7 separate regions of the Homo sapiens genome follow, and all the other regions are linked to region 7. The links are contacts of gene promoters, found by promoter capture Hi-C in blood cells and fetal thymus (Javierre and others, 2016). All regions are on one chromosome and are shown on one strand. Each heading gives the region's core, a stretch centred on a gene start or on the middle of the fragment in contact. The rest is flanking DNA. Distances are from core to core; before and after follow the strand shown. Region 1 has its middle 41 kb from the start of LINC03088. Region 2 overlaps SPRING1 (SREBF pathway regulator in golgi 1). Region 3 overlaps LINC03088 (long intergenic non-protein coding RNA 3088). Region 4 overlaps LINC03088 (long intergenic non-protein coding RNA 3088). Region 5 has its middle 13 kb from the start of LINC03088. Region 6 overlaps SPRING1 (SREBF pathway regulator in golgi 1). Region 7 holds the start of MED13L (mediator complex subunit 13L).

What was found. The method cuts DNA at HindIII sites, captures the fragments that hold promoters and counts their contacts. A CHiCAGO score of 5 or more calls a contact.
Region 1: a fragment that was not itself captured here is called in contact with the fragment with the promoter of MED13L in region 7 in 17 of 17 cell types (monocytes, neutrophils, M1 macrophages and 14 more); the score reaches 30.9 in monocytes.
Region 2: a fragment that was not itself captured here is called in contact with the fragment with the promoter of MED13L in region 7 in 17 of 17 cell types (naive B cells, M1 macrophages, megakaryocytes and 14 more); the score reaches 18.4 in naive B cells.
Region 3: a fragment that was not itself captured here is called in contact with the fragment with the promoter of MED13L in region 7 in 15 of 17 cell types (megakaryocytes, monocytes, M0 macrophages and 12 more); the score reaches 22.5 in megakaryocytes.
Region 4: a contact is called between a fragment that was not itself captured here and the fragment with the promoter of MED13L in region 7, in 10 of 17 cell types (monocytes, fetal thymus, non-activated CD4 T cells and 7 more). The highest score is 13.1, in monocytes.
Region 5: a contact is called between a fragment that was not itself captured here and the fragment with the promoter of MED13L in region 7, in 12 of 17 cell types (monocytes, M1 macrophages, M2 macrophages and 9 more). The highest score is 11.1, in monocytes.
Region 6: a fragment that was not itself captured here is called in contact with the fragment with the promoter of MED13L in region 7 in 5 of 17 cell types (neutrophils, monocytes, naive CD4 T cells and 2 more); the score reaches 8.3 in neutrophils.

What each region holds. Positions count from the first base shown.
Region 1 is chr12:116,618,893-116,622,913 of GRCh38, forward strand. No RefSeq gene overlaps it. Among named protein-coding and RNA genes, the nearest start is that of LINC03088, 41 kb to the right of the region's middle. The HindIII fragment of the contact is 1,666 bases long and covers 906-2,571 here.
Region 2 is chr12:116,706,570-116,710,797 of GRCh38, forward strand. It overlaps SPRING1 (SREBF pathway regulator in golgi 1), which reads right to left. Exons shown (of 5, transcript NM_024738.4): 5 at 3,602-4,228. Among named protein-coding and RNA genes, the nearest start is that of SPRING1, 29 kb to the right of the region's middle. RefSeq lists enhancers at 1,253-1,302, 2,603-2,782. The HindIII fragment of the contact is 5,313 bases long and covers 82-4,228 here.
Region 3 is chr12:116,691,208-116,695,033 of GRCh38, forward strand. All of the region lies in intron 1 of LINC03088 (long intergenic non-protein coding RNA 3088), which reads left to right. Among named protein-coding and RNA genes, the nearest start is that of LINC03088, 32 kb to the left of the region's middle. The HindIII fragment of the contact is 6,709 bases long and covers 1-3,826 here.
Region 4 is chr12:116,668,889-116,672,993 of GRCh38, forward strand. All of the region lies in intron 1 of LINC03088 (long intergenic non-protein coding RNA 3088), which reads left to right. Among named protein-coding and RNA genes, the nearest start is that of LINC03088, 9.4 kb to the left of the region's middle. RefSeq lists an enhancer at 4,056-4,105. The HindIII fragment of the contact is 5,264 bases long and covers 1-4,105 here.
Region 5 is chr12:116,646,594-116,650,797 of GRCh38, forward strand. No RefSeq gene overlaps it. Among named protein-coding and RNA genes, the nearest start is that of LINC03088, 13 kb to the right of the region's middle. The HindIII fragment of the contact is 169 bases long and covers 2,436-2,604 here.
Region 6 is chr12:116,727,021-116,731,291 of GRCh38, forward strand. The region is part of intron 1 of SPRING1 (SREBF pathway regulator in golgi 1); the gene reads right to left. Among named protein-coding and RNA genes, the nearest start is that of SPRING1, 8.9 kb to the right of the region's middle. RefSeq lists an enhancer at 1-109. The HindIII fragment of the contact is 3,708 bases long and covers 116-3,823 here.
Region 7 is chr12:116,275,769-116,280,072 of GRCh38, forward strand. It overlaps MED13L (mediator complex subunit 13L), which reads right to left and starts at 1,925. Exons shown (of 31, transcript NM_015335.5): 1 at 1,292-1,925. The coding sequence starts at 1,363. RefSeq lists silencers at 1,754-2,223, 2,274-2,333. The HindIII fragment of the contact is 4,130 bases long and covers 650-4,304 here.

The DNA.
Region 1 (4,021 bases), core at 489-2,988, 340 kb after region 7:
AAATACAAAAATTAGGCAGATGTGGTGATGCATGCCTGTAATCCCAGCTACTTGGGAGGCTGAGGCAGGAGAATCACTTGAACCTAGAAGTGGAGGTTGCAGTGAGCTGAGATCATGCCACTGTACTCGAGCCTGGGTGATAGAGACAAAAAAAAAGAAAGAGAAAGAAAGAAAAGAAAAGAAAAGAAAAGAAAAAACTGAGTATGATTTTTTTAATCATTAAATTTGCAAAGAATTGGTTTGATAGAGATGTATTGGTAAAGTATGGGAAATGAAGGTGCCTAGATATTGATGGCGGGGAGGTAAATTGTTACAAACTCTATGAAGTGAAATTTACAGTTTCTCAAAAGTATAAAAGTGCATACTCTTTGAGGCAGGCTGAATCATGGTGTCCACATTCTAATCCCTGGAATGTGTGAGTGTTACCTAAGTGACAAAAAGGACCTGGCAAATGTGATTAAAGCAAGAATCTTGACATGGAAGGGTCATTCTAGGTTGGCCCAGTGGGTCTGATGTCATCACAGGGGTCCTTGTAAGAGGGAGGAGGGAGGTCAGAGAGGAAAGGTGATGTAATGACCGAGCAGAGGTACAGGGAAGTCCTTTGAAGATGAAGGCAGGGCCCACAAGCCAAGGAAGCTGAAAAAGACGAGGAAACAGATTCTTCCCTAGAGCCCGTGGGAGGAACCAGCCCTGTCCACACCTTGATTTTAGCCCAGTGAAATTTTTTTTAGACTTCTGACCTCCAGGACTGTGAGAGAATAATATGCGTTGTCTTGGGCCACTTTGTTTGTGGTCCTTGGTTAACAGCAGCCACAGGAAACAGATACCCTCTTTCTCCAAGCAATTCCACTCCTAGAACTTCATCCGACAGAGACACTGGGACAGATGCAAAATAACTACATACAAGCTTCTTCATTAAAGCAGAAATTGTAGAAGCCAAACACTGGAACCAAGCTAAATACCCAACAGGGATTGGTCAATAAAGCTGAGTACCTCCATGGAAGGGAGGGAAGGAAGAAGGGAGGGAGTAAAGGGAGGAACAAAGGAAAGGAGGAAAGGGAAGGGAAGGAAAAGAGGAAAAAACAAATATGCTTGTAATTCCAGCACTTTTGGAGGCCAAGGTGGGAGGACTGCTTGAGCCCAGGAGTTGAAGTCTGCAGTGAGCTGTGACTGTGCCACTGCCCTCCCGCCTGGGCAACAGAGAGAGACGCTGTCTCTAACTAAAAAATACGAATTAAAAAAAAGAAACAAATAGGTTTTCTAGATTTTTAGCCCAGCAGTGCAGGCTCAAAGGCCCTGGGTCCCTGGCTGCAGGTTCCCTGAAGGTGGGACAGTGAGGATGAGAGAATGTGATGCCTCTGAAGTTAGGTCATCACTGAGCTCAGTCTGGTTTTCTCCCTTTCATCCTGGGCAGGGTCCACCTAGGCGTGGCTTTCCTGTCCCTCCCAGCACTTTAGAGTGGATATCTGCAGGCTAGTTGTCCTGTTGATAAATCGGGGTGGGTTGTGACCTCATGTTGTCTATCAGGTTCAAGTCAATTCAAGACATGCTGCCTCTTTCCTGCTGCACTAAACCTAGCAAGGTGACGCCCCTCTAACACGCCTTCCCTCCGCCAACCCCACATCCAGCATTTAAATTGCAGGAAGATCACCATTGTGACAGTAGATTTCCAGCTGACACCCCCAGGGTAAGCACTAAGGAGCTCCCTAATTATCTAATCCTGAGATGCCCATGGGTGAAGCCGAGTGGAGCTCTTCTCTATCAGTAAACACGACATGCAGTTCTTTGTCTTCAGTGCAAAGCAAGGCTTTTTCCTGCCATGTGAGGAATACTCCTGCGTGATGTATTAAAATCCCTCAAAGAGAGAGAAAGAGGAAAGTAAAATAAATGTATTTCCATGACTCTAAGTACAAATCCCTGTGCGAGGCCCCGTGTGATCCTCAGAGCTGGGCTGGAGCTATTTTAAAACGAATGAAGCAAACCTACTCGATTGAAAAATCCTCTGTTACAGGATAGAGATGGGTAAGAAATCAGCGCCGGGGCTCTCGGAGTGCTTGATTATGGTTATAAACATTACTAGCTGCATCAGCAAAGCTGCTGGGAGTCCACCATAAACCTTTTGCGAGAGGAATCAGGAGGCAGGGCTGACCAGGCAAGTTCAAAACCTGAGCCCGTGTTACTCGGAGGCTTCCTAGGCTGCTAAAAATATCCAGTGATCTGCCTAAAGCAGGGGCAAGTGAGGAAAGCCTTTCTTCCCGCTGCCTCCTTGTCACCTGCAAGAAAAGGAGCCAGTTAAGGGGTGACAGGGGAGGAGGAAAATCCAACAGATACACAGAGCAGCGATTTTTGCCATGTGCATTGCTGCACAGCAGGGTGGCAGAGGTGTCTTCCTACGCTGAAGGAGCTCAGGGGAGGCCTCAGCCTGGACTTTAGACCAGAGAGAAAGTGGGTTCAAATCCCAGCTCTGCCACTGACTCATTTGCATGGTCCTCTACCCAAGACAGGGGACTTTATAAGCCTCAGTCTTCCCATCTGTAAAATGGAAATAATAATGCCAACACGTGAATTGTAAGCTTTAAAGATAACATGTGGTAAGTGCTGGGCTCAGAGCGGGTCCTTTCCCAATGGCAGCTGTTATTACTGCTGTGACAACTTAGTGGGGAGAGACAGATACATAAAAGCAATGGAGGCTGAGCATGGTGGCTTGCACCTGTAATCCCAGCACTTTGGGAGGTCGAGGTGGGTGGATCACCTGAGGTCAGGAGTTCAAGACCAGCCTGGCCAACATGGTGAAACCCTGTCTCTACTAAAAATACAAAAATTAGCTGGGCATGGTGGTGCGTGCCTGTAATCCCAGCTACTTGGGAGTCTGAAACACAAGAATCCCTTGAACCCAGGATACAGAGGTTGCAGTGAACTGAGATCACATCACTGCACTCCAGCCTGGGTCACAGAGTGAGACTCTGCCTCAAAAAAAGAAAAAAAAATGGGAAATCAAACAAGCAAGGAGGAAAACTGCACACAACCCCAGGTTGTGTATGGTTTGGACATAAGCATTGGAAAAATTCTCAGAAAGGAAAGGTTCCCGCCAAGTCCTCACCTGATCTTCAGCCCATAGAAATCTCCCCTAAGCTTCCAAAGCCAGGGAAATGCTAGATTTCCTCAAAGCCTGTCCAGATGTGCCAGTGGTTTGTTCTTCCTTTGCAGCATGGTTGCAATATTCAACCACTCAGCGTGTGTAGAACTGAATGGCATCATTCCCTCTCTGTATGCCCAGGCGACTCTCAAATGGCAGGTGTGTAATAAATGACTAGGTCAGGGCACTTGAGTAGTTAGTGAGAAATACACTGAGTAGAGAAGGCAGAGAGACTCTAATTGATGTGGCATGTGTATGTGTCAGCATTCAATCAGAGAGGCTGGGCCACCATACATATCTGTGCACTTATACATATATGTGTGTGTGTTATAGAGATTTGACCTTACATGATTGTGGGAGTCTCTGTAAAGCTGCTGTCTTTGCTCCTGATGCTGGAGCCTGAAGTCCTCAGGGCAGGCATTTGGAAAGAGAAGAGGAATGTTATTCAGACACCAACTAGTATACTGCAATTTGATTCTGACACTAGGCATTTGAAGTTAGTGTCAGATTCCACAATCTTAAGGGCGTGGTTGCCAACAAGACTGTCCTACTTCAAATACTAGCCACAGTGGGGTCCTCAGGCCACCTGCTCTTCTGACCAAATGGCTACAAAGCTTAGGGGAGGTTCCCACAACCCCCTTTATATTCACTAATTCATTAGAACAGCTCACAGAACCTAAAAAAGCACCATACTTGACAGTTTTATTGTAAGGATACAAATCAGAACCAGCCACATGAAGAGACACATAGGGCAAGGTTTGGGAGGGTCCTAAATTCAGGGCTTCCGTGCCTCTCCCCATGGATTCGGGGTACACAGCCCCTCTGGGTATATTTATGTGTTCACCAACCAGGAAGCTCCAGTTAGCTTCAGTGTGCAGAGTTTTT
Region 2 (4,228 bases), core at 1,488-3,987, 430 kb after region 7:
TTGAGGAGACAGTAATACAGTCCCTTCAATGCTTTATATTATCATGAAGGATTATTTCCCTTTTTGCCCTTGCTGCCAGGAAGCTTACTTGCATCAACTGTGTTGCTGGCTTACAGTTGCACATCTGATTCTAACTTTCTTCCTTGAGTCTAATGTGTGGCATTTCCTCAACTTCTTTTTGAAAATAAACCAGCTACACTCAGTGTAGCTCTATGCATGAGGTAGGAATAAATAAATAAATAGTGGCTACTCTGTTGAGGATAAAATATTTTCTTTGGAAATCCAAAGTGGTATTTTATCCTAAGAGGGATGGTAGCATCAACATCTAAGGGTGCTCAGGCACAATGTGTCCAGAACCAGAGGCTTGGAGCAACTCAGTTTTAAGCCCCGGAAGGGATGAAGCATCTTCCAGTTCTGTATACTCCCCAAGTACCTACACAGAGCTGGGCGAAGAGTAAGCACCCTTTAAATACCTGCTGCGTGAATACTCAGGGCTCAAAATTCCGTATCCTTGCCATGCAAGGGGTCACAAAGTTTAACCCAGGGTTTCTCAGCCTTAGCACTTCTGACACTCAGGCCAGTGAGTTCTTTGTTGTGGGCTGGTTGTCCTGGGTGTTGTGGGATGTTGAACAACATCCTTGGCCTCTACCCACCAGATGCCAGTAGCACCCCTGCACATAAATTTTTTGACAATCAAAAATGTCTTCGAACATTGCCAAATATCCCCTGGGGGCAAAATCTCCCTCTGGTTAAACAGCATGGGTTTTTGCCAGGTGTGGTGGCATGGGCCTGTAGTCCCGGCTACTTGGGAGGCTGAGGTGGGAGGATCACCTGAGATCAGGGATTGGAGACCAGCCTGGGCAACACAGCAAGATCCCATCTCTAAAAAAAAAAAAATTAAAAATTAGTCAGGCATGGTGGCTCATGCCTGTAGTCCCAGCTACTCAGGTGACTAAGATGGGAGGATCACTTGAGCCCAGGAGTTCGAGGCTGCAGTGAGCAGTGATTGTGCCACTGCACTCCAGCCTGGGCCACAAAGCAAAACTTTGTCTCAAAACAAACAAACAAAGAAACAAAAACAACAACAAAATGTCTTCAAACATTGCTTGAAGTGGGTGGTGTAAAATCTCCCACTGATTAAACAGCACTGGTTTCAAGCAACACCTTCCAGGTCCTAGAAGCCACCAACTACAATTCTAGAATACCAGGGCTGGAAGGACCCCATGCATTATCCTGTTGACATCCTTTCATAGACAGGCCAATGGGCCCAGAAATAAGAGACTGAGGCACAGCCCCTGCCCACAGGAAACAACAAAGGGTGATCAAAACGTGCCAAGGCAACGCGCTGCCCCGGCCCTGCTTGCACGCAGATTGGAGTTGCAGGTGGCTCCTCCATGTCATGGTGTAAACTTGTGCTAAAATTAACCTGAGCGTCTGAGACTTCCTCTATAAAATGACAAAAAAGAACACCTGGCTGGGCGCGGTGATTCATGCCCTGTAATCCCAGCACTTTGGGAGGCCAAGGTGGGCAGATCACCTGAGGTCAGGACTTCAAGACCAGCCGGCCAACATGATGAAACCCCATCTCTACTAAAAATACAAAAATTAGCCAGGCATAGTGGCATGCACCTGTAGTCCCAGCTACTTGGGAGGCTGAAACAGGAGAATCGCTTGAACCCGGGAGGCAGAGGTTGCAGTGAGCAGAGATCGCGCCACCGCACTCCAGCCTGGGTGACAGGACTCCATTCCAAGAGAAAAAAGAAAAGGAATGCCTGGCTGGGTGCAGTGGCTCACGCCTATAATAATCCCACCGTTTTGGGAGGCTGAGGCAGGCAGATCACTTGAGCCCAGGAGTTCAAGACCAGCCTGAGCAATATATCGAGATCCCCATCTCTACTAAACATTTTTAAAAAATAACTGGGTGTAATGATGTGTGCCTGCAGTCCCAGCTACTCAGGAGGCTGAGGTGGGAGGATCACTTGAGCCTGGGAGGTTGAGGCTACAGTGAACCAAGATCGCGCCACTGCACTCCAGCCTGGGTAACAGAGTGAGACCCTGTCTTGCTCTCTCTCTCTCTCTCTCTCTCTCTCACACACACACACAAAAGAAGAATGCTGGTCTCTGAAGATGGGGATGGGACGCTGCACGTGCAGAGTGGCACATGGCAAGTGCTTCATAAATGTTTTTCTTTGTCTGAGTATGAATGGTTAAGAGGCCTATCCCACTTTTCGTGTTGGCGGAGGGTGCAGGAGGAAGAAGGGGGTAGCTGTGAGTATTTATTTAAGCCTTGGGTCTTCTCTGCACCAGCAGCATGCCCAGTTCCCTCTTCTGCAAGGGCTACTTTCCTGAGTCCCTGTTCACAAAATCGCCCGGACCCAGGAAAGAGTCCTGATCTGTCATCCCCACCAGATGGTTCTCATCTATAGAAACAGCTTCATTGTTTTCAGGAGAGAGAGCTCCACGCAGGCACGGGGCCCATAATCTCTAGACAACGATCACATTGAGGACAGAAAACCTATGGCATTGGTGCCACCAAGTGGCACAGAAAGCAATTGTCGGTGTCTGTGCCACCCGCGCTGCCTTGCTCTCCACTTTCCATCTCTCCATCTTCTCCTCCTTCCCTTGAAATCGCACCGCAAGTGTCATTTGACTACACTGCCATCCTTCGAGGTCTGAAAGGGCTGCAGTGAGAAGAAAGGGCTTTACGATCACATGTGACTCGGCTCTGTAGTTCCTCCCCGTGCTAAATCAGGTCAATGAGCTGATTTGTGTCAAATAAATTAGCCCAGCCGGCTGCTAAGCTGCTCCAAGCCTATCTGTCTTGGGCTTCCAGGTTGGCATTTAGCAGGCTGCAGGCACAGCCCAGGCAGGTATGGATGCCACGGACGGAGCTCGAGGAGCACGCCCTGAAGTGCTGCCCAGATGCAAACCTCCCGGGAGAAACTGAGTCCAGCACGTGCCTAGGGAAGAGAGCACAGTGGATTCCAGCTCCCGACATCCTGCTGCAGATGCCACGGAGCATTTAGGAACATCTTTAGAAACTGAAGTCCTTTATACCCTCGAAAACCACCATGTAGACCAGCAGCTTGACAGGGCGGAGCTGGCTGGTGCTGGGGGAAATGTGGACTGCCTTGAGCTCAAATAATCTTACAACACCAGGTAGCCAGTAAGACGGTCCACAGATCCTCCCCTAGCCTTTTTATATTTTACATTTCTGCATTTAGCAATTCACTAAAATAAATGACAGGCTCAGGAGATCTGGAGTGCAGTTTTCCCGATCTCTGCTCTCTCAGGAAAGTCGAGTCACGCCGAGAGACACCCTGCCGTGACAGGTTTCTTCAGCATCCCTAATGCAGGTCAACTCCGGCCGCGACAAATGCCTATAATTTATTTGTGCAGAACAAAAAGACTTCCTTCCCCACTGCATAAAATCAGACAAGGAAAAAGCAGGCAAAGCTAAACTCCTGTGCAATTATGAAAGGGTTTTAACCTCTAACTGGGCTTCAATCTTCCAGGCAGGATGATAGAAGTGGAAAGTGCGCTTGCCTGCTCTGCAAATGAATTCGCTATCATTGGATTAAATCAATCTAACAGGAGCTAATTATTTTAAAATAATATGGACAGCAGGGTCCTACCTTTATTTACATACAAATACAAAATCCACGTTTATATACAAAATACAGGCAAAACGCTCCAGCGGAACTTTAATTAGTGGTTATCTCTAGGGGCTGGGAATCTAATTTGGCACAATTTAATTTCTTTGTAAGTTCATACATTTTAAGGTTTCTGCCTGGTAATCACAAAAGCAGAGAAAGGAAAACCTTTTACTGAGCTGAGCAATGCCTGTAGAAGCCCTGCTTAGTAGGAGTTCCAAGATGCTCTGTGTATCTCAGGTGAAGCACACCTAAATAATTGAGCACTGCATTAAGGCTCAGAAACGTAGTACCGTTGTGTGCTTCTCTGCCAAAAGGCAGCTATTTTTATGACAGAAAACACAGCAGCTGTTTTCACAGGTGCAGGGCAGCAGTACATGGGAAGTTGGTCCCAGCAGAGAAGGATATGGTGTCTCTTTAAAACTGGAGGAGGAAGAGGCAGAAAATGGTGAGCCCCAGTTGAAATCTGCAAGAGAGAAGGAGGAAGCCCTGGTTTGGAGAAAAACGGGCTCCAGATGGCTGGGCTACATTTGTCCTGTGAAAATCAAAAGCCTGGGACCCAGCCGCTGGGATAC
Region 3 (3,826 bases), core at 460-2,959, 420 kb after region 7:
TGCTCTTTGAAGAGCTGCCTCCAACAACCTTAAGAATGAGGTCATATAACATAGCAGTCAAATCCCTAAACTTTAGAGCATATTTAGCAAGGTCTGCTTCTCTGATAACCTATATTGGATTCGGGAGCTTGTTATACAGATCCCGACCGGGCGCAGTGGCTCACGCCTATAATCCCAGCATTTTGGGAGGCAGAGGTGGGAAGATCACTTGAGGCCAGGAGTCTGAGACCGGCCTGGGCAACATAGCAAGACCCAGTCTCCACAAAAATAAAAAATACAGATTCCTGGGTCCCATTCCATACCTTCTGAATCAGAATAGGTCAGACACAGCCTTTCTTTTTAACAGAATCTTCTAGGCAATTCTGGAACACGCTGACATTGGAGAACCATAGTTTTAGGGTCAGACATCCCTAAAAGCAAATCTCAGCTCTACCAGTCAATAGCAGTTTACTTCAAGCAAGGATCATCTCTTTTTTCTCAACCATAAAATGACACTGGTGAGAATTAAATTAGATGTCTGTAAGTAGATAAACATCTAACATGGCTGGCTGGCAACCTGTAAGACTCAATAAATGGTAGACAACTCGAATGTCCAAAGATGGATGATGAATCAGCAAAATGTGGTCCATATGTATATGGAATATTATTCAGCCTTAGAAAGGAAGGAGGTTTTGACACATGCTGCAACGTGGATGAATGTCCTTTGAGGACATGATACCAAGTGAAAGAAGTCAGACACAAAATGAGGGTCTCATTTAGATGAGGCCTGTCGTACGGTCAAAATCATAGAGACAGGAAGTAGAATGGTGGCTGCCAGGAGCTGGAGGGAGTGGGAGATGAGGTTACTGTTTAATGGGTGCTATAGAATTTCAGTTTGGGGGCTGGGCATGGTAGCTCAAGCCTTTAATCCCAGCACTTTGGGAGGCCGAAGCTGGTGGATCACTTGAGGCCAGGAGTTCAAGACCAGCCTGGCCAATATAGTGAAACTCTGTCTCTACTAAAAATAACAAAAATTAGCTGGGTGTGGTGTGCATGCCTGTAATCTCAGCTACTTGGGAGGCTGAGACAGGAGAATCGCTTGAACCCAGGAGGCAAAGGTTGCAGTGAGCCGAGATTGCACCACTGCACTCCAGCCTGGGTGACAGAGTGAGACTCTGACACACACACGCACGCACACACACACACAAAGAATTTCAGTTTGGGGTGGTGCAAAAGTTCTGGAGATAGATGGTGGTGATGGCTGCACAACAGTGTCTATGCACACGATGTCACTCAACTGCACACCACTTTTAGGTGTACACATTAGCTGACATAATCTTTTTGGGCATTGAAAATGGCAAATCTTGCCAGGTGCAGTGGCTCACACCTGTAATCCCAGCACTTTGGGAGGCCAAGGCATGAGGATTGCTTGAGCTCAGGAGTTTGAGAGCAGCCTGGGCAACAGAGGGGGAACCCATGTCTTAAAAAAGAATATATAAAAATACAAAAATTAGCTGGGCATGGTGTTGCATGCCTGTAGTCCCAGCTACTCTGGAGGCTGAGGTGAGGATCACTCGAGCCTTGAAGTTGAGGCTGCAGTGAGCTGAGATTGCAACACTGCACTCTAGCCTGGGTGACAGAGTGAAACCCTGTCAAAAATGAAAGAAAGAACGAAAGAAAGAGAAAGAAGGAAGGAAAATTGCAAATCTTGTGTGTATTTTACCACAATCAAAAAATAAAATAAATGATAGTTACCACCACCGACAAACAAAAGTTATTTTTCAACTCCCAATTCCCCACCTTGCCCTTCCAGATCTTCTACAATCGATCTAGCAACAAAGCATCCAGTTGAGGTGCAGGAGGAAGGGGAATGGAGGAGAAATGGGAAAGAAATAATAGTCTCTAGCCCTCTCATTGTTTTTTCTTAACCCAGGAGTCCAAAAAGTCCCCAAGAAGCCACGGACCGCTTATCCCAACTGTGAAGGAAGCTGATGCGACATCAAATATTAAAAGGGTAGAGGAACCAGCATAGTTTTCCATATAAATGAAGCTACTTACATATATGAAGATTGCTTTTAAAATTCAAATATAATTATTTTTTAAAAGGCATCCCGCGAGCTCTGTCTCTCTCCCAGCACTGACACTTCTGGGCTGTTGTCATGTGCCAGTGAGGTGCCTGTTGGCAGACAGCCCAAAGCACTTTGTAACATGCCCTCCAGATCCTAAGTGAAAACTGATCAAAGAATTGGCACCAGCAAAGACAAGACTGAAATCAGCTCTAAAAGGGGTGGGGTTGGACTATTGTCCCTCTTTGTGGGAACAGCTGCTTAACGGGGCATTGGAGCGGCGTGATTATAATATGCATACGGACTGCTCTGTTAACAGAAGCCGGCTTAAAGTACTCCAGGGGCCTCCACCTTGTGTTTTGGCAAAGGGATCTTCGAGGATGCTGTGTCAAACCTTTTTGAAAATGTCTCCTTGACACGGAGGGTGAGGAACGGCGTCTGCGAATCTCATTACACAGGGTCCCACGCCTCCCTCTGCTGTTCTCCGGCTCCCGTTTCTTGGCTGCCGCCAGTGGGAGTCGCACGGGGGTCACCTGCCCCCACTTTTAATCAGGACGGGGAAAAATGCACCAAAGGAGTGCCGCGGGTTACCTGAGCAGACCCGGGAGCCCGTCTCCTGAGTCCTGGGGGAGGATCATTTATTTGTCTGCAGATCGGCAAGCGGGCAGGTTTGCAGAGTCCCTGGGGGCTAGTAGTTCTTATAAAGGAGAATGCACCACCAAGCAATTAGTTTCATTGTATTGTGCATGGGATGGCATCGCCCGCTCTGGAACGGAAGAGGAGAGGGGACATCCCGGCACTGGGAGTGGGGAGGGCTGAGAGGGACCCCATGGACACAGCTGACGCCCAGTTCCATAGGCCAGGGGAGGGAAGCGAACCGTGCAAGTGCTGGAGTCGTGGGGCTGGGATCTCCCACATCTGAATCTGACACGTTCATCCCAGGGCACTGGAACTTAAGATGTGAGTTAGCATCCCCCTTCATCGGAGGTGGAAACTGGAGATCAGCAAGGTTAGGACAATTTCACCAAAGTGTCCTAGTTAGTAAGTGGCAGGGCTAGGACCACACTGCCCCCCTCCCCGCAACACCCTCATCTGTCCCACTCCAGGGCCTATGTGTTTTGCTAGTTGGTTTTGTTTTTACTTGCACCCCACCTAAAGGAAACGGATATGTTTCTTTTTCTGGGGGGGTAGTTGGCTGCTCCCCAGGCCCTGCCGAGTCCCTGTTCGGGATGGTTTCCCCGTCTCCGTCCTCAGCCCGTTGGCAGCTAAAAGACCCCCTGGCCTCCATCTCCCAGTGTCTGTGGGTAGAAGCGAAGGGAGGGTGGGAGGAGGGGAACAGTTTTAAAATGAATATATGCATGTGTCTCTCCTGCTAATCACCGGAATGCATTTTCAGGAGAGGTGAGCGGAGGGATTAGCTGCAGGACTCCCATTAATGTTAACTTTATTTCAGTAATGAGGTGCCAAGGCATAGAACAATCACTGTGGCTAACACGGTGTAATCACAGTGATGAGATCCGCATGCTGCGAGGGGAGGGCGAGGGGAGGATCGTCAGGAGAGGGGGGCTGCTCGCTGGTGGGGACGGATGACACAGAAGAGGTGGGGGAGCAGGACGGGAGAGGAAGAGGGAGGAGGAGGCAGGTGACCCTTGGCAAGGGCCGAGTGGGTTAAATGAGGGCCCCTGATAAGGAGGAAATAATGGTAGCAACTCCTCGGTGCTCAGAGTGGATAGCCCGGGAGGAGGACTCTGCTCATTTAATTTAATCCTCATGGCAAAAGG
Region 4 (4,105 bases), core at 500-2,999, 390 kb after region 7:
AGATGCTCAAGTCCTTGATATAAAATGGTATAGTACTTGCATATACCCCTGTATACTTTAAATTTTCCCTGTATACTTTATATCATCTCTAGATACAATACCCAATACGATGTAAATGCAGTGTAAATAGTTGTTATGCTGTATTGTTATTTAATTTGTATTATTTTAGTTATTATTTTTATTGTTTTTGATATTTTTTATCTGCAATTGGTTGAATCCTTGGATTCGGAACCTGAGGATAGAGAGGGCTGGCTGTAGTTCCAACAGAGATCGTGTGTCCCGAAAAGCTGGAAATATTTACTATCTGCTCATTCCTAGGAAAAGTGTGTCAATCCTTGCTCTAGGCCACTGAGTACAGAGAAAGCAAAGGGATCCCCCTGGCTACCAAATAAAGTTGAAAGTCTTTAACACTGCACTTAAGAAATCTACAAATAGCCTCAACCCTCATTTTCAAGGTTATGCCTTCTCACTCACCTCATACCAAAGTCAATCTCAGAAATCCATCTACCATCAGTGTGAGCAGCGGCAAATCCATACAGGCCTGCAGCAACTTGATTCTTACCTCCTCAGAGGAAAGAATTCAGCTGAGGGCATAAGGCAGAGTGAAAGTCCAAGGCAAGTTTTAGAGCAGGAGTAAAAGTTTATTAAAACATTTGAGAGCAGGAACAAAAGGAAGTACACTTGGAAGAGGAGGACCAAGTGGGTGACTTGAGAGACCCAAGTGTGTTGTCCAACCCTTGACCTGGGGTTTTATACATTGGCTTGGTTCCGGGGTCTGCATTTCTTCTTCCTAACTCTTCCTTGGGGTGGGCTGTCCATATGAGCGGGGACCTGTGCATTCAGGAGGGTCCGCATGCACAGTGTGTTTACTGAAGTTGTGTGCATGCTCATGTGAGGCGTTCTTCCCTTACCATTCGAGCAATGCTAGAAGAAGGTCATAGATCAGTTAAACCCCAGCCATTTTGCCTCTTAATGCACATGCTGGAGCTCACTCGCCCAACTGCTGAGATCTTATCCAGAAGCAGTTATCACCAGCCTCAGGTGTTTTCTATCTATTGGGAGCCTGCCTTTCTGGCACCAGCTGTGACCAATTTTTATTTTATTTATTTAGTTATTTATTTATTGAGGCAAGATTTCTCACTCTGTCACCCAGGCTGGAGTGCAGTGGTGCATGATCTCGGCTCACTACAACCTCTGCCTCCCAGGTTCAAGCGATTCTCCTGCCTCAGCCTCCTGAGTAGCTGGGATTACAGGTGCCCACCACCATGCCCCACTGATTTTTGTATTTTTAGTAGAGATGAGGTTTCACCATGTTGGCCAGGCTGGTCTCGAACTCCTGACCTCAAGTGATCCACATGTCTCCACCTCCCAAAGTGCTGGGATTACAAGTGTGAGCCACCACACCTGGCCCAATTAGTATTTTAGAGAGAGAGTTTAACAACCACCTGACTATCACCTGATGGTCACTTGACATTCCTGTGGGTCGGGGTGGGGGCCCTTTCCTGCCCTGCTCATGTCTGCCTAGCTCCCTACTCTAACGTCAGTTCTTCCCCTACAGACTGCACTTCCCTGTGCTTAAAAAAAAAAAATTATTTAGGTGGAGCCAGGCGCAGTGGCTCACGCTTCTAATCCCAGCACTTCGGGACCCGAGGCAGGCTGCAGCTCAGGACCAGCCTGGCCAACATGGCAAAACCCTGTCTCTACTAAAAATACAAAAATTAGCCAAGCGTAATGGTACATGCCTGTAATCCCAGCTACTCAGGAGGCTGAGGCAGGAGAATTGCTTGAACCCGGAAGGCAGAGGTCACAGTGAGCTGAGATTGCACCACTGCACTCCAACCCAGGTGATGGAGTGAGACGCTGTCTCAAAAAAAAAAAATTATATATATATATATATATATTTAAGTGAAATTCACATAATAAAAAATCATATTAAAGGGTAGAATTCAGTGGGTTTTAGTATATTCACAATGTTGTACAAACCCCACTTCTACATAGTTCCAAAACATTTCAATGACTCCAGAGTAAAATTTCTCAACCTATTAGGCAGTTTCTCCAGTTTCTCCCCTGGCACCCAGGCCCTGGCAACCACAAATCTACTTTTTGTCTCTATGAATTTGCCTATTCTAGACATTTCCTCTAATGCTGTCATACAGTAGGTCACCTTTTATGCCTGACTTCCTTCACTTAGTATAATGTTTTCAAAGTTCATCCATGTTGTAGTATGGGTCAGTACTTGGTTCCTTTTTATAGCCATATAATATTCCATTGTATGAATAGCCCACAATTTGTTCAGCCATTCCTCCATCAATAGACATTCAGGCTGTTTTCACCTTTTGGCTACTGTAAGTAGTGCTGCTATGAACATTTGTGTTCAAGTATCTCTTTAAATACCCCTGTTTTCAGTTATTTGGGGTATATATCTAGGGGTGGATACGCTATATCACATGATAATTTTATGTTTAACTTTTTGAGGAACTGCCCAAAATGGCACAATGGCTGCACTGTATTTTTTCCAGAATGGCTGCTCTGTATTTATATTTGCACCAGCAACACATGAGGATTCCAGTTTCTCCACATCATCGTCAACACTTGTTATTTTCCTCTTTTGTTTCCCTGGTTATAGCCATCCTCCCGGGTGCAGTGGCTTGTCGCTGCTTTTGCCGCTGTGGTTCCTTCTGCCCATGTGCTCCTCCTCATCCCTTCATCTCTCAATAGTGCCGTCTCTCCAGGCTCAACTCAGAGCATGCACGTTGGGGGTTTCTACCCCCAATCTCATATCCCAGAGCACGTGTCTCCCCATGTGTGTTCCCAACTTCCTGAGCTTGTGCTTTTTTTTTGGTGAGGGAAGACATGGTCTCACTCTATCACCCAGGCTGGAGTGCAGTGGCATGATCTCGGCTCACTGCAACCTCTGCCTCCTGGGTTCAAGCGATTCTCCTGCCTCAGCCTCCTGAGTAGCCGGGATTACTGATGCATGCCACCAACCATGCCCAGCTCACTTTTTTTGTATTTTTAGTAGAGACAGGGTTTTCACCATGTTGGCCAGGCTGGTCTCATTGAACTCCTGACCTCAAATGATCTGCCTGCCTCGCCTCCCAAAGTGCTGGGATTACAGGCATGAGCCACTGCGCCCAGCCGAGCTTGTGCTTTAGAGAGGGGGAGAGAGAGAGAGAAAGAGAAAGAGAGCGAGATTGGATGGGTGGATAGATAGATAGATAATAGATTGATAAGACTTGATAGATTGATAGATGATAGATAAGATGATTGATAGAAGATAGATACGATGGATAGATGATTGATAGATGATAGATAAGATAGATGATTGATAGATAAGATAGATTGATGAAAGATAAGATAAATAGACTGATAGATGATCGGTAAAATACATAGATTGATTGATTTCGGGAGTACAGGTGCAGTTTTGTTATATGGATATATTGCATACTGGTGAAGTCTGGGGTTTAGTGTAGCCATCACCCGAATAGTGTACATTGTACCCATTAAGTAACTTTTCATCCCTCTCCCTCCCCCTCCCCACCCTTCTGAGTCTCCAATGTCTATTATTCCACTCTCTATGTGCATGTGTTCATATTATTTAGCTCCCACTTATAAGTGAGAACATGCAGTATTTGACTTTGTGTCTGTTATTTCACTTAAAGATAACTGCCTCTAGTTCCATTCACGTTGCTGCAAAGGACATGATTTCATTCTTTTACATGGCTGAGTAGTCTTCGTGTGTGTGTGTGTGTGTGTGTGTGTGTGTGTGTGTGTGAGAGATATTTATCCATTCATGTGTTCTGGATACTTAGCCTCTTTATCTTTGCTATTGTGAATAGTGCTGCGATATGGGTGCAGGTATCTTTTTGATACAATGATTTCTTTTCCTTCGGGTATATACACCAGTTTTGGGGTTGCTGGATCGAATAGTAGGACTATTTTTAGTTCTTTTGAGAAATCTCCCTACTGTTTTCCATAGAGGTTGTACTAATTTACCTTCCACCAGCAGTGTAGAAGTGTTCCCTTTTCTCCACATCCTCGCCAACATCTGTGATTTTTTTGCCTGTTTAATGATGGTCATCCTGACTAGAGTGAGATAGTATCT
Region 5 (4,204 bases), core at 1,270-3,769, 370 kb after region 7:
CCAGAGGCTGAGGCGGGAGGATCCCTTGAGTCCAGGATATTGAGGCTGCAGTGAACTGTGATCGCACACTGCACTCCAGCCTGGGCAACAGCCTATCCGTGTGTGTGTGTGTGTGTGTGTGTGTGTGTGTGTGTGCTTCATGTATTACCTTCAGGAGCTGCCTAGAAGTTCATACCCCTGTTACAGGAAAGGGATTCCAATCCAGACCCCAAGAGAGGGTTCATGGATCTCACACAAGAAAGAATTCAGACCAAGTCCATAGAGTAAAATGAAATCAAGTTTATTAGGAAAGTAAAGGAATAAAAGAATAGGCAGAGCAGCCCCCAGGGCAGCTGGTTGCCCATTTTTATGGTTATTTCTTGATGATATGCTAAACAAGGGTGGGTTTCCTTCCCTTCCCTCTTCCTTACCTCTTCCTTCCCTTTCCTTCCCTTCCCTCTTCCTTCCCTCTCCTTCCTGTCCTCCTTCCTTCCCACTTCCTTCCCTCCCCTTCCTGTCCTCCTTCCTTCCCTCTTCCTTCCCTCCCCTTCCTTTCCCCCTTCCTTCCCTCTTCCTTCCCTTTCCTTCCCTTCCCTTCCTTTCCCCCTTTCCTTCCCCCTTCCCTTCCTTTTTCCCTTCCCTTCCCTCTTCCTTCCCTTCCCTTCCCCCTTCCCTTCCCCTTCTCTTCCCTTCCCTCTTCCTTCCCTTCCCTTCCCCCTTCCCTTCCCCTTCTCTTCCCTTCCCTCTTCCTTCCCTTCCCTTCCCCCTTCCCTTCCCCTTCTCTTCCCTTCCCTCTTCCCTTCTGTTCTCTCTTTCCTTCCTACTTCCCTTCCCTTCTCTCTTCCCTTCCCTTCCTTCTTCCCTTCCCTTCCTTCTTCCCTCTCCTCCCCTCCTCTCCCCTTCCTTTCCTTCTTTTAAATGAACATAGTGGACAAAGAGGGAAACCCATATTTAAATAAGACATTTGCACCCAGCCGACTTTTTGACCTGTCCAGGAGCCTATTAAATTAGGAGATTTAAAATCCAACAGGCAGATCACTGCGTTCATCCACATGACAACAGAAGACGGAATGGGGACCGCAGGTGATGTTTATCACTTTCTTTGAAAGTGTCGGGGTAGAATTGGAGACCAATCACCTGGCTACATTTCTGCCGCTGCTTGTCAGCAACTCATGTAACCCATGGGAATGTACATCCCAATAATGTTCCCGACTCCATGTGACTTCTGTGACATTATTGTTTCTTTTGATAGAAATAAGCCCTGCAAACTTCCCAAAGGAATACGTTTTTGATTCCTCCCTTTCTCCCTGTTTATCTCTCTGCATCTTCTACTTTCTTTTCTTCTTAGAATCTTCTAGGGCAGGCAGTCCTAGTTACATACGTATCTGCTGCCTCTCTGACCCACGGAGGAAGTCCCTCCCTTCCTCTCTCCCACACCCCTTCCTCCTTCATCCTCTGCCTGGAAAAATCTTCTGACTAACACAGATGTTCAAACTTGACATCTAAGCGGGAGTTGATGGGGTGGCAGGTGTCTAAGGCTGAGGCTATTTAAGAGTCAGTCTAAAAAGTAGAGTATTAGCTCATGCCTGTAATCCCACCACTTTGGGAGGCCAAAGTAGGAGGATTCCTTGAGGTTAGGAGTTTGAGACCAGCCTGGGCAACATAGCAAGACCCTATCTCTACAAAAATATTAAAAAATTAGCCAGGCCTGGTGGTGCATGCCTGTAATCCCAGCTACTCAGGAGGCCAAGGCAGGAGAATCGCTTGAGCCCAGGAGCTCCAGGCTGCAGTGAGCTATGATTGCACCACTGCACTCCAGCCTGGGTGACAGAGACCCCAACTCTAACAACAAAACAGAAACAAAAAAAGCTGTGTTGGAGATAGGCAGAACGAGTTTTAGGAACACAGTGGGAGCCAGTAGGCCTGAATACATTTACCAACGTATCCCACTGAAGCCAGAAAGCCAGTCTTGTCCCTGACACCCCAATCCCATTCACCAAGGCCACCTTGCCTCCCAGCATATGCCCATCAACCTATTGTTGAGGTTCCTGGGCTCTCCCATTGCCTGGGCCCTGGGTCCATCCCAGCCCCTGTGTTCTGTGAACCTCTGCCCCTACATCATACTCTCTGCAAGACAGCCTGGAGATGGGTTGGAAACATGAGACATGCTGTGCTGTGGAAGTCTCCCTAGCAAAGGTGATACTTCATGACAGTCTCTAAGGACAAGCAAGAGGTAGCCAGGTGAAAGAGAGACAAAGAAAGCATTTCAAGCCAAGGACACACCTATGCAAAGACTCAGAAACTGTAAACATATTTAATCAAATTCCAGAAACTACAGGTAGTTCTGTGAGGTCAGGCCCTAAGGAGGTTTAGTGTGGGGAGGGGAAAGGGTCTTACCATTGGAGCGAGGCTGAGAAGTTAGAACATTATGCTGAGGGCTACAGAAGCTCTTCAAAAGCTTATGAGAGGGCCAGGTGCAGTGGCTCAGGCCTGTAATCCCAGCACTTTGGAAGGTGGAGGTGGGAGGATGGCTTGAGGGCAGGAGTTCGAGGTTGCAGTGAGCTATGATCACGCCATTGCACTCCACCCTGAGGACAAGGCAAGACCCCATCTCTAAAATAAATAAGCTTATGAGATATAGAAGTGTTCATAGCAGCATTATTCACAATAGCCAAAAGGTGCAAACAACCCAAACACCTATCAACAGATGAATGGTGATATGGTTTGGATTTGTGTCCCAGCCCAAATCTTATGTTGAATTGTAATCCCCAATGTTGGAAGAGGGACCTGGGGGGAGGTGATTGGATTACGGGGGCGGATTTCCCTCTTGCTGTTCTCATGATAACAAGTGAGTTCTCACTGGTTGTTCAAAAGTGTGTAACACTTCCCTCTTCTCTGTCTTCCTCCTTCTCTGGCCACGTAAGACGTGCCTGCTTCCCCTTCACCTTCCACCATGACTGTAAGTTTCCTGAGTCCTCCTCAGCCATGTTACCTCTACCTCCTGAAGAACCGTAAGCCAGTTAAGCCTCTTTTCTTTATAAATTACCCAGTTTCAGGTAGTTCTTTATAGCAATGGAAGAACAAACTGATACAAATGGATAAACAGAATGTGGTCTATCCATACAACAGAATATTATTCAGCCTTAAAAAAGAATGAAGTTCTGATGCATGCCACAATATGGATGAGCCTCAAAACATGCTAAGTGTAAGAAGTCGGGCACAAAGATCATGTATTGTATAACTCAATTTATACAAAATGCCCAGAACAGGCAAATCAATAGAGACAGAACCCAGACCGGGGGCTGCCAGGGGGTGGGGGTGGGGGAATGAGGATGACTGCTTAATAGGTAGAGTATTTTTGGAGTATGAAAATGAAAGTGTTCTGGAACTAGATAAGGTGATGGTTGTACAACATTGCAAATGTACTAAATATCACTGAATTGTATATGTTAAGATGGTTAGTTTTTTGTTATATGAATCTTGCCTCCATTTTTTAAACAGTATGAGAGGAACAGTTTCTTGGTTTAGTAAATATCTATCGCATAATTTGAGGGATCTACATCACAGAGCAGACCTCAGAACCCAAGGCAGGTTTTTCATTCAGATGCAACATTCTCCCAATTCCTTAGCTGTCAAAAGGGTTGGGGGAGCTTCAAACTCCAGCTGACAACACCATAGCTTTCAAAGTGAAACCAAAGATGAGAGCTATGGAAAGTGGACAGAGTCCAGGCCATTTCCAAACAGTAATCTCTGCCTTCCTCTTGTTCCAGCCACAAAACAGAACTCACACTTAAAAATGTCAGTCTAGGCTGGACACAGTGGCTCATGCCTATAATCCCAGCACTTCAGGAGGATCACGTGAGCCTAGGAGTTCAAGACCAGCCTGGGCAATATAGCAAGACCTGGTCTCTACGATAAAAAATAAAAACATTATCTGGGCATACTGGCGTGCACCTGTGGTCCCAGCTCTTCCGGCAGCTGAGGTGGGAGGATTGCTTTAGCACGAGAGGTAGAGGTTGCAGTCAGCCAAGATTGCACCAGCGTGGGTGACAGAGTGAGACCTCATCTCAAAAATAAAAATACAAAAAGTCATCATTTGAGCTGCCTGTGAATGCCGGTAGCTTCCCCTCTAACTGGCTGCTTCCATGGTTTGGAAGTCCCAGGAGGAAGTACATCTTGTTCGGGAGAGCTTGGGGGTAATTGCCTGAATCCTTTCCCCAGTACT
Region 6 (4,271 bases), core at 720-3,219, 450 kb after region 7:
GCTTTTTTGAAGGCCCAGTCTTGCAAAGGGTGCTGAGGACATTCCTTCACAGGATAGGGAGCTTTCTACCTTTCCTGAACTGTTTCACCTACCCTATTAGGTTGTCTCAATTTTAAGCTTTTCTTCATATTTATATTTTTTCACTCGAAATTCATTCAAAGATATCTAGTTCTTACAGAATGCTAAGGATGCAGAGATGAACGGCAGTCTGGTTCTGTATTCGAAGAGCCTCAGAGCTGTTGAGAAAGGGGTACCTCCATATATCAGTGCGATCAGGCACTGCAGATGCTGTGACACATGTCCACATGGGGTGCACTAGGTACAAAGAGAAGAGCAGGAGCCAAAAGTACATGAGGGCTTTCTTCCTAATTGTAAAGAGCTACAGAAACACACTGTGATTACTAATGCGTTGCTTTGTGTCTCACTTCAGAAGGGCTGTATTCATAACTGTGCTGTGTACTTTTCAGGAGTTATCACAGGTCAAGTGAGATAAATGTCCCATGTAAGCAGTAAAGCACGGAAACATAAGGCACTCTTATGAACCTCAGAAAAAGAGGGGAGGGGGAGAAAGGCCAGAGGGTACTCCAAATGTCTAGTATTTGGGAAATGGCTAAATGCAGCCTGATAATGGAAATTTTTAGTTATAAAAATCCTATTTCCAAAGAGCTTTTAAAGATAGGGAAATGCTTATATGTTAAATGAAGAAACAGTATGCCTCAACTATACAAACAAGAAGGATGAAAAATGGCAGGAAGAAAATATGCCCAAATATGAACAGTGGATGCCTCTGGTTAGTGAGATTATGGGTAACTGTTCCTCTCCTCTACCCTGTGCAATACGAGACAAACATTCTGCAATATATATATATCTCTCTCTCTTAATAATCAGTGCAAAACAAAAAAATCCCCACCAAATTAGCAAGTCTCATATTATATGATATATACTTCACTCTAGACAGTATCTAACTTGGCACCAATTTACACACTTAGCTCCTTTAAGGCTGAACACGTTCGTAGATTTTCAAGGAGTTATGCAAACAGCCCTGAGACTTTCAGGAGCTGCACCACTTGAACACGTATGAGAACATCTGGTTACACGAGAGGAACTCTAAGGACCCTTCTGACTCCCAAGATGGGAACTTGTTTAATCTCAGGTCAAATGCCTCGCATAGTTAGGCCCGCCCTGCCACTAGATCATGTCATCCTGTTTTGTTTTCTTCATAACATACATCATTATCTGAAATCATTTTGCTTATTTACTATCTCTCCTCCTTACCCGCTAGTGGAATATAGGCTCTTGGAGGGGAGAGACGTCATCTGCTTTGCCCACTCTGTCTCTGCCATCCAGCAGAACAGTGCCTGGCACACAGTTGGTGTTATTTGTTAAATAAATGCACCCAAGAAACCTGGTACCATTCACCATTCCCAACCCTCCCCTCAATGGCATCCCCACCATCATCACTGATTTCTTCTGCCTCCCATCTCTACAATTTAAGTTATCCCCCATAGCATTAATTAACATGAAAACCAAAGAAAAGAGGAATTCAAAGCAGCAGAGAGGATAATCAACTATTCTCCAGGCAAAAGCTGCCGCATCTGCGCCATGAGTTTCCAGTCTCACCGCAGCGGAGCTAAGGTGCACGGGGAGCTTCACAGTGTTCATAGCGTCTTCTCCATCAACGGTACACACCCTGGACCCGTACACTCCATCTCACCATCTCCATTTTACAGAGGAAGAACCCCAACTCCCTCAAGGCCCACAGCTAGGGAGTGGAAGACCACCCAAACTGAGGCCAGCTGAGCAGGGACGGCCAAGTCAGACGCATGCAGGAGCGCCTCTGCCAGAGCACCCAGGACAGCGGGGCTCAAAAGCCTTTGGTCCTGGAACCCTTTCTAATCTTAAAAATTACTGAGGACCTCAATATGTGGGTTTATGTGAGTTATGGCTATTGATGCTTACCATATTGAAAATTAAAACATAAATCCTTAAAATGTTTATTTTAGATCGTTTTTATTCATTTAAAAATAACAACAATGAATTCGGTACATGAGTTTTTTGTGAAAAAACACTTAAAAAAATAGTAAGGAGAGGGGCAATGTTTTTATATTTCTGCAAACCTTTTTAATGTCTCCCTCGATGGAAGACAGCTGAATCTCCGAAGCGACCTCTATATTCAATATCTGTCACAATATATTGTCTGGGTTGGAATACACCAAGAAAATCTATTCCACACAAATGTGTAATTGGAAAAGGGAGGACTACTTTAACAACTTTTGCAGAAAATTATGGATAATACTAAAGCATACTTGACACTAAATACTACACCAGAATTTGACAGCTGCAGGTTCCTAAAAGTTCACTGCACACAGTGCAGCCAGTTTGGAAAACAGTTGTGCAGTTCCTCAAAAAGTTTAACACAGATTTACCATCTGACCCAGTAATGCCACTCCTAGGAATATACCAAGAGAAATTAAAACATGTCCACATGAAAACTTGTAAATGAATGTCTGCAACAGCGTTATTCATAATAACTAAAAGGTGGAAACAACCCAAATGTCTCTCAATAAAGAATGAATAAACAAAATGTGACAGATGCACACGATGGAATATTATTCGGACATAAAAATGAAGTGCTAATACATGCTAGGACATGGATGAACTTTGAAAACATTATGCTAAATGCAAACGCCAATCAAAAAAGACCACATATTATAGAATGCCAATTATATGAAATATCTAAAATAGGCAAAACTATAGAAACAAAGTAGATTACTGATTGCTTAGGACTGAGGGGCAGGGGGAAGATGATGATGAAAATGTTTTAAAACTACTGGTTTGTGAATATACTACTTTTTTATTTTTGTTTTTATTTTTATTTATTTATTTATTTATTTTTTGAGACGGAGTCTCGCTCTGTCGCCCAGGCTGGAGTGCAGTGGCGCAAATCTCGGCTCACTGCAAGCTCCGCCTCCAAGGTTCATGCCATTCTCCTGCCTCAGCCTCCCGAGTAGCTGGAACTACAGGCACCCACCACCACGCCCGGCTAATTTTTTGTATTTTTAGTAGAGACAGGGTTTCACTGTGTTAGCCAGGATGGTCTCAATCTCCTGATCTCATGATCCACCCGCCTCGGCCTCCCAAAGTGCTGGGATTACAGGCGTGAGCCACCACGCCCAGCCTTATTTTTACTTTTTAATTTTTTTTTTGAGACAGTCTTGCTCTGTCACCCAGGCTGAAGTACGGTGGTGGATCCTGGCTCAATGCAACTTCCACCTCAGGTTCAAGTGATTCTCCTGACTCAGACTCCCGAGTAGCTGGGATTACAGGCACCTGCCACCACACCCAGCTAATTTTTGTATTTTTAGTAGAAACAGGGTTTCACCATGTTGGCCAGACTGGTCTGAAACTCCTGACCTCAGGTGATCCACCCATCTCAGCCTCCCAAAGTGCTGGGATTACAGGCTGAGCCATCATGCCCAGCCTGTGAATATACTACAAACAAGCGTTACATACTTTAAATGGGTGAACTGTATGATATGTGAATTATATCTCAATAAAACTTACCAAAAAACCCAGTTCCTTCAGCACAATGTGGCATCTGAAACCATATCAATGAATTTTTCATAAACTGTTCAGATCCATGAGTCTGTGTTGCACATTGAACAGATCTTACGCAGATCTTCTAATTGACACATTTTCATTATACAATACTAAAAAAAATCACACTTGTTAATATCACCAGGGATTTAATCTTTAGGTGTTAGAAAGTTACAAGCTAAGCGTAGCAGATACGCATTTTCCAAAATTCTAATTTTCACTTGAAAGCTTAAATATTATCATTGGCAAATAATGTCAGATGTTTTCTGTAAAGTAACAAGCTCACTTCATTTTCAAGAAAATGTCTACCAAATACCCAAATCTGAATAACTAGTGTATCAGTTGTTCTTTCAAGAAAAAATAGTGTTCCATGAAAAAAAGTGGCTACTTAAGCTTGCAGCTCAATTGCCAAAGCTCTTCCTCAAGACACCCATCATATTTCTGTAGGCAGAACGTACTGTTAGGCATATTTCCCATTTCATTCTACAGGAAAGATATGTACTTGGGGATCAAAATTTAGCAAAAGTAATAATTTTGACTGCTTTATTCTTAAGTGAAATTAGTACTTTTTAAAAAAACTACAAGTATGGCCGTGAAGAATACGACAACTAGTAGCACAGTCTGCTGCCGCTGCTTTGACCCTTGCTAAGGTACTGGCTTGACCCCCCATGACT
Region 7 (4,304 bases), core at 675-3,174:
TTAAAACAAGTTGGGTGTTTTTAAGGCTAAATTAAATAAACCGTTCAGCCAATTTTCCAATTATATTCTACGCTTGAAACGTAATTGCCTTACATCTGTTTACAAATCTTTGCTCAATATTTAAACAAATTCGTACTCTCCTGGGCACATAGCTATACATACAGTAACTCATGCACAAAGCACATATTTAAAGACCACGCACTGCAATTATTAGCCTAAACGCCAGGTTTAACAACGTGAATGTTTTCAGAGGTAGGTAATACGACCCAATAAAAAGCAAAGATGGCATTTACCACCAAATGTCACTGACACCGCCAGGAAAAGAGTTGCTGGAGCCCTATACATTTTTAATTTCGATGAATCTAGACACCGTCGGCGGGTGCCAGGCTTCCACGAGAACAATTGACACCCTAACTGCTTCAAGATTAAGGCAGGCGATTCAAATCCGAAGGAAAAGTTGTCAATTATCAGAAAGAGAGAGCGCGAGAGAGGCGAAGGCAGATAAAAGCGATGTTATCAAACCGACCAGCTTGTTGCTTTTGTGTGTGTGTGTGTGTGTGTGTGTGTGTGTGTGTGTGTGTGTGCGGATTCGTTGTTAGGATAGAGAAAAACAGTTTTTAAAAGACACAGGAGGAGAGAAAGAAGAAAAAGCTTTCTCCACCTTCCGTCGGCTCGGTGCAATGGCTTTACGGCTCTCCAGCATAGTAAGCCCCGAGAGGCAGGCGGCTGTCGATGTTTACAATCGCGGGAGCTTCGGGTGCAAGAGTCCTTTCCTGACACAATCGCATTCAATCAACTATTTTAGGGCGAAATTGCAGGTGTCATTATGGAATTTAAAAAAATTCAAAAGGCAGGCGGGCGGGCAGGCAGCTGATCCAACAACGGGGGAAGAGGTTGCCGATCGGAGGCGCGGCAGCACAAGGCAAAGCCTTCCACATTTACGGGGGGAAAAAAAGGGGGGAAAGGGGAGGAGAAGGGGAGTGCGATTGCAACAGAGGGTGGGCGTTCGAAGTGCGACCCAGAATCCGCAGCTCCGAGACTTCCACATGCAAATTCCACGCCGAGCGCCGCGCTCACAAATGATTTTTAAAGAGCCAAATAAACACTGGATGGGATCCAAGGCGAGAGAGAGACGATCCAAAAGGGGGAGAATCGGCGAGAGGCGAACGGCGGGGAGACGCGAGGGAGGGGCGAAGTCCCGGCGGCGGGAGGAGAAAGTTGGTCGGCGGCGGAGGTCGGGGACCCCCCCCCTTCCCCGGCACAGCCCCCTCCCCGCAGCCCGGCTACTCACCAGCGAAAAGAGGTTGGAGTGACAATCCTCCAGGCTCGCCCCGTTCGCCACCCAGTTCGCTGCCGCAGTCATGATCCTCCGCGAGCCCGGCCGCCAGAGCGGGGCATGTCGGAGCGAGGCGTCCGAGGCGAGGCCGGGCCGGGCGGCGGCGCCTCGCCGGGGAGCGCGGGGCGGCCGGGCCGCCGCCGCCGCCGGGGGAGGGCGCGAGGGCCGGCGGGCAGGCGGGAGGCGCCGCGGCGACGCCGCGCCGGGGGCAGCGGGCCCGGGCTGGCGGGGGGGGCGCGCGCCCCGGGCCGGCGCTGCGGGCCGGCCACCGCCTCCGCCTTCCCTGCTCCTCAGCCGCCGCCGCCGCCGCTGCTGCCGCTGCCGCCGCCTTGTTTATCTCCAGCCACCGACTCCCCCTCGGCCCCCGCCGGCGCGCGAGGGGAGGCGAGCCCCGGAGCCGCCGCCGCCGCCTCGGAGCCGCCGCCGCCGCGGAGCGCGAACTCGCGAAGGGGGGGGTGCGGACGAAGCCAGCGGGCGACCCCGGCAGCCGAGCGACGTCCCCTCCTTCCTCTTCCTCCCCCACCCCCCCCTCCTCCCCAGTCAGCCTCGCTTCTCCTCCCTCCCCGGGCTCGCTTGCTCTGACAGCAATGGCGGCCGCCGACCGCGGCTCGGCCCGCCATTGGCTGGCGCTTGGTCACGTGACGGGCGCCGGCCGCGCGGGGGGAGCGAGGGGCGGGCGGGGGAGGGGTCCGGAGTGGCGGCGGCGGCGGCGGCTCGCGGGAGGCGCTGCTGAGCTGAGCGCGGCCGGGTCCTCCGGCCGGGAAGAGGGAGGGAGGGAGGCAGAGAGGGAGAGAAAGAAGTGCGGGCGGCCGGGCTCCCCGGCGGGCGGCGGACTGCCGGCCCGTGGCTGCCGTGGGCTGCCCCTCGTGGCCGCCCCGCCCCCTCGCGGTGCACTGATCGTGGCGGGGCGGGACCGTGGGTCCCGGGCGCGCCCGTGGTGGCCGCGGAGGAGGGCGCGGGACCCCCGGCCTGTGCCCTCGCAGCCCAGGCCGGCTGGCGTGGCGCGGCGGCCGCGATGTGGGCCAGGCAGCGGGTCCGAGTGCCCTGGGGAATGTGTCCTCAGAGGCTCGCGCCGCCGTCCGCCTTTTGCAGAGGAGAAAACTAAAGCACAAAGGGATTAAATCACTTGCCCGAGGTCGCACACTTGGGAAGAGGAGTCCAGATTCGAACCCGCGCACAGTGAAGCCAAGCTCTTGGACAAGGTTTCACAGGCTTCGCCCAGGGATATTCACGGCTGCCATAGACGGAGCGCTTACTGTGTTCCAGACACTGTGCGTTTAATACAGAAATGTTTATTGAGCCCTTACTCCTAGTTACTGTGTGCACTCATTCATTCATTCATTCATTCATTACATAAATGTTTCCTGAGCTCCTGCTGTGTGCCAGAATCTGTTATAACTTCCAGGCACTGTGCTAAGGCCGTGTTGGGAGCAGACCCTTCTTCCTGGCGTCATTCATTGGATAACCAACATTTCCTGAGTGTATATGGCCTGGGAGTCCGGAGGAGTGCTGCTATGAAGAGAAGCTCTCCCAGTCCTCAAGAAATGGATCCCCGAAAAGGGGGAGGAGAAAACAATGTCTTCACTAATACGCCTCCAAACATGGAACAATCAGCTGTTTCAGGTAGATTAAGCTAAAAGAGGAAGAGTGGATGGCTGGCACAGTGGCTCACGCCGGTAATCCTAGCCGAGGTTTAAGACCAGCCTGAGCAATGTAGCAAGAACCCCCGTCATGACAAAAAAAATAAAATACAAAAATACAAAAATTAGCCAGGCGTAGTGTGGCATGTGCCTGTAGCCCTAGCTACTCGAAAGGCTGAGGTGGGAGGATAACTTGAGCCCTGGAGGCAGAGGCTGCAGTGAGCCCAGTGAGCCGAGGTCGCATCACCGTACTCCAGCCTGAGTGACAGAGAGAGGCCCTGTCTCAAAAAAAAAAAAAAAAAAAAAAAGGAAGAGTAGAAAGCAGGGAAGAGATGAGAGTGTATAATAAGAGAAGTCTTAAGACACGTGAACTGAGTTTTGGAACTACCACAAATACTGCTAAAGCAAAACTCATGAGCAACATGTTATAATGTGTATTATCATGCAACATATTGTTACAATGAATGTCGTTACCTACATTATTTCACATAATCCGCAGAACAACCACCTAAAGTAGATACTGTTATTATTCTTAGGCTGTAATTAGGTAAAACTCAGAGGTGTGCAGTGACATCTCCAATCTCTCAGTTAGTACATGGCTCAAACTCAGGTCCTTCTGACTCCAGAGCCCGAGCATGAATTCAGGAGGCTCCTTAGAAAGATGCCTCTGGCTGGCTTTGCCATCCCTCTAATTGCATTATTTTGACCAACATAGTTTAACTCTTTGAGCCTCATTTCCTAATCTCAAAAATTGATCCTGATTGCTGACCCAATGACCTCAGGCCAATATTGAGAATTTCTATTAAGATACTGTTGATGAGCGGATGCAGTCGCTCACGCTTGTAATCCGTGCACTTTGGAAGGCCAAGGCGGGCAGACCAACTGAGGTGAGGAGCTCGAGACCAGCCTGGCCAACATGATGAAACCCTGTCTCTACTAAAAATACTAAAAATACAAAAATTAGCCGGGTGTGGTGGCGTGTGCCCGTAGTCCCAGCTGCTTGGGAGGCTGAGACAAGAGAATCGTTTGAACCCAGGAAGCAGAGGTTGCAGTGAGCAGAGATTGCACCACTACACACCAGCCTGGGCGACAGAGTGAGACTCCATCAAAAAAATAAATAAATAAATAAATAAAGATACTGTTGGTAAAAGTAAAAAAAAAAAAAAAAAACCACTCTGTCAACATACACGGTGTTACTTAGGCCTGAGCAATTCGAGGGTATAATGCCCATCATATCCAGATTCCATATATTTACATCAGAGGTGAAGGTAGTTCTATCCTACTCACCTGGTGACCAAATTGTCATTCTTCAGCATGTTTAGGTTTAA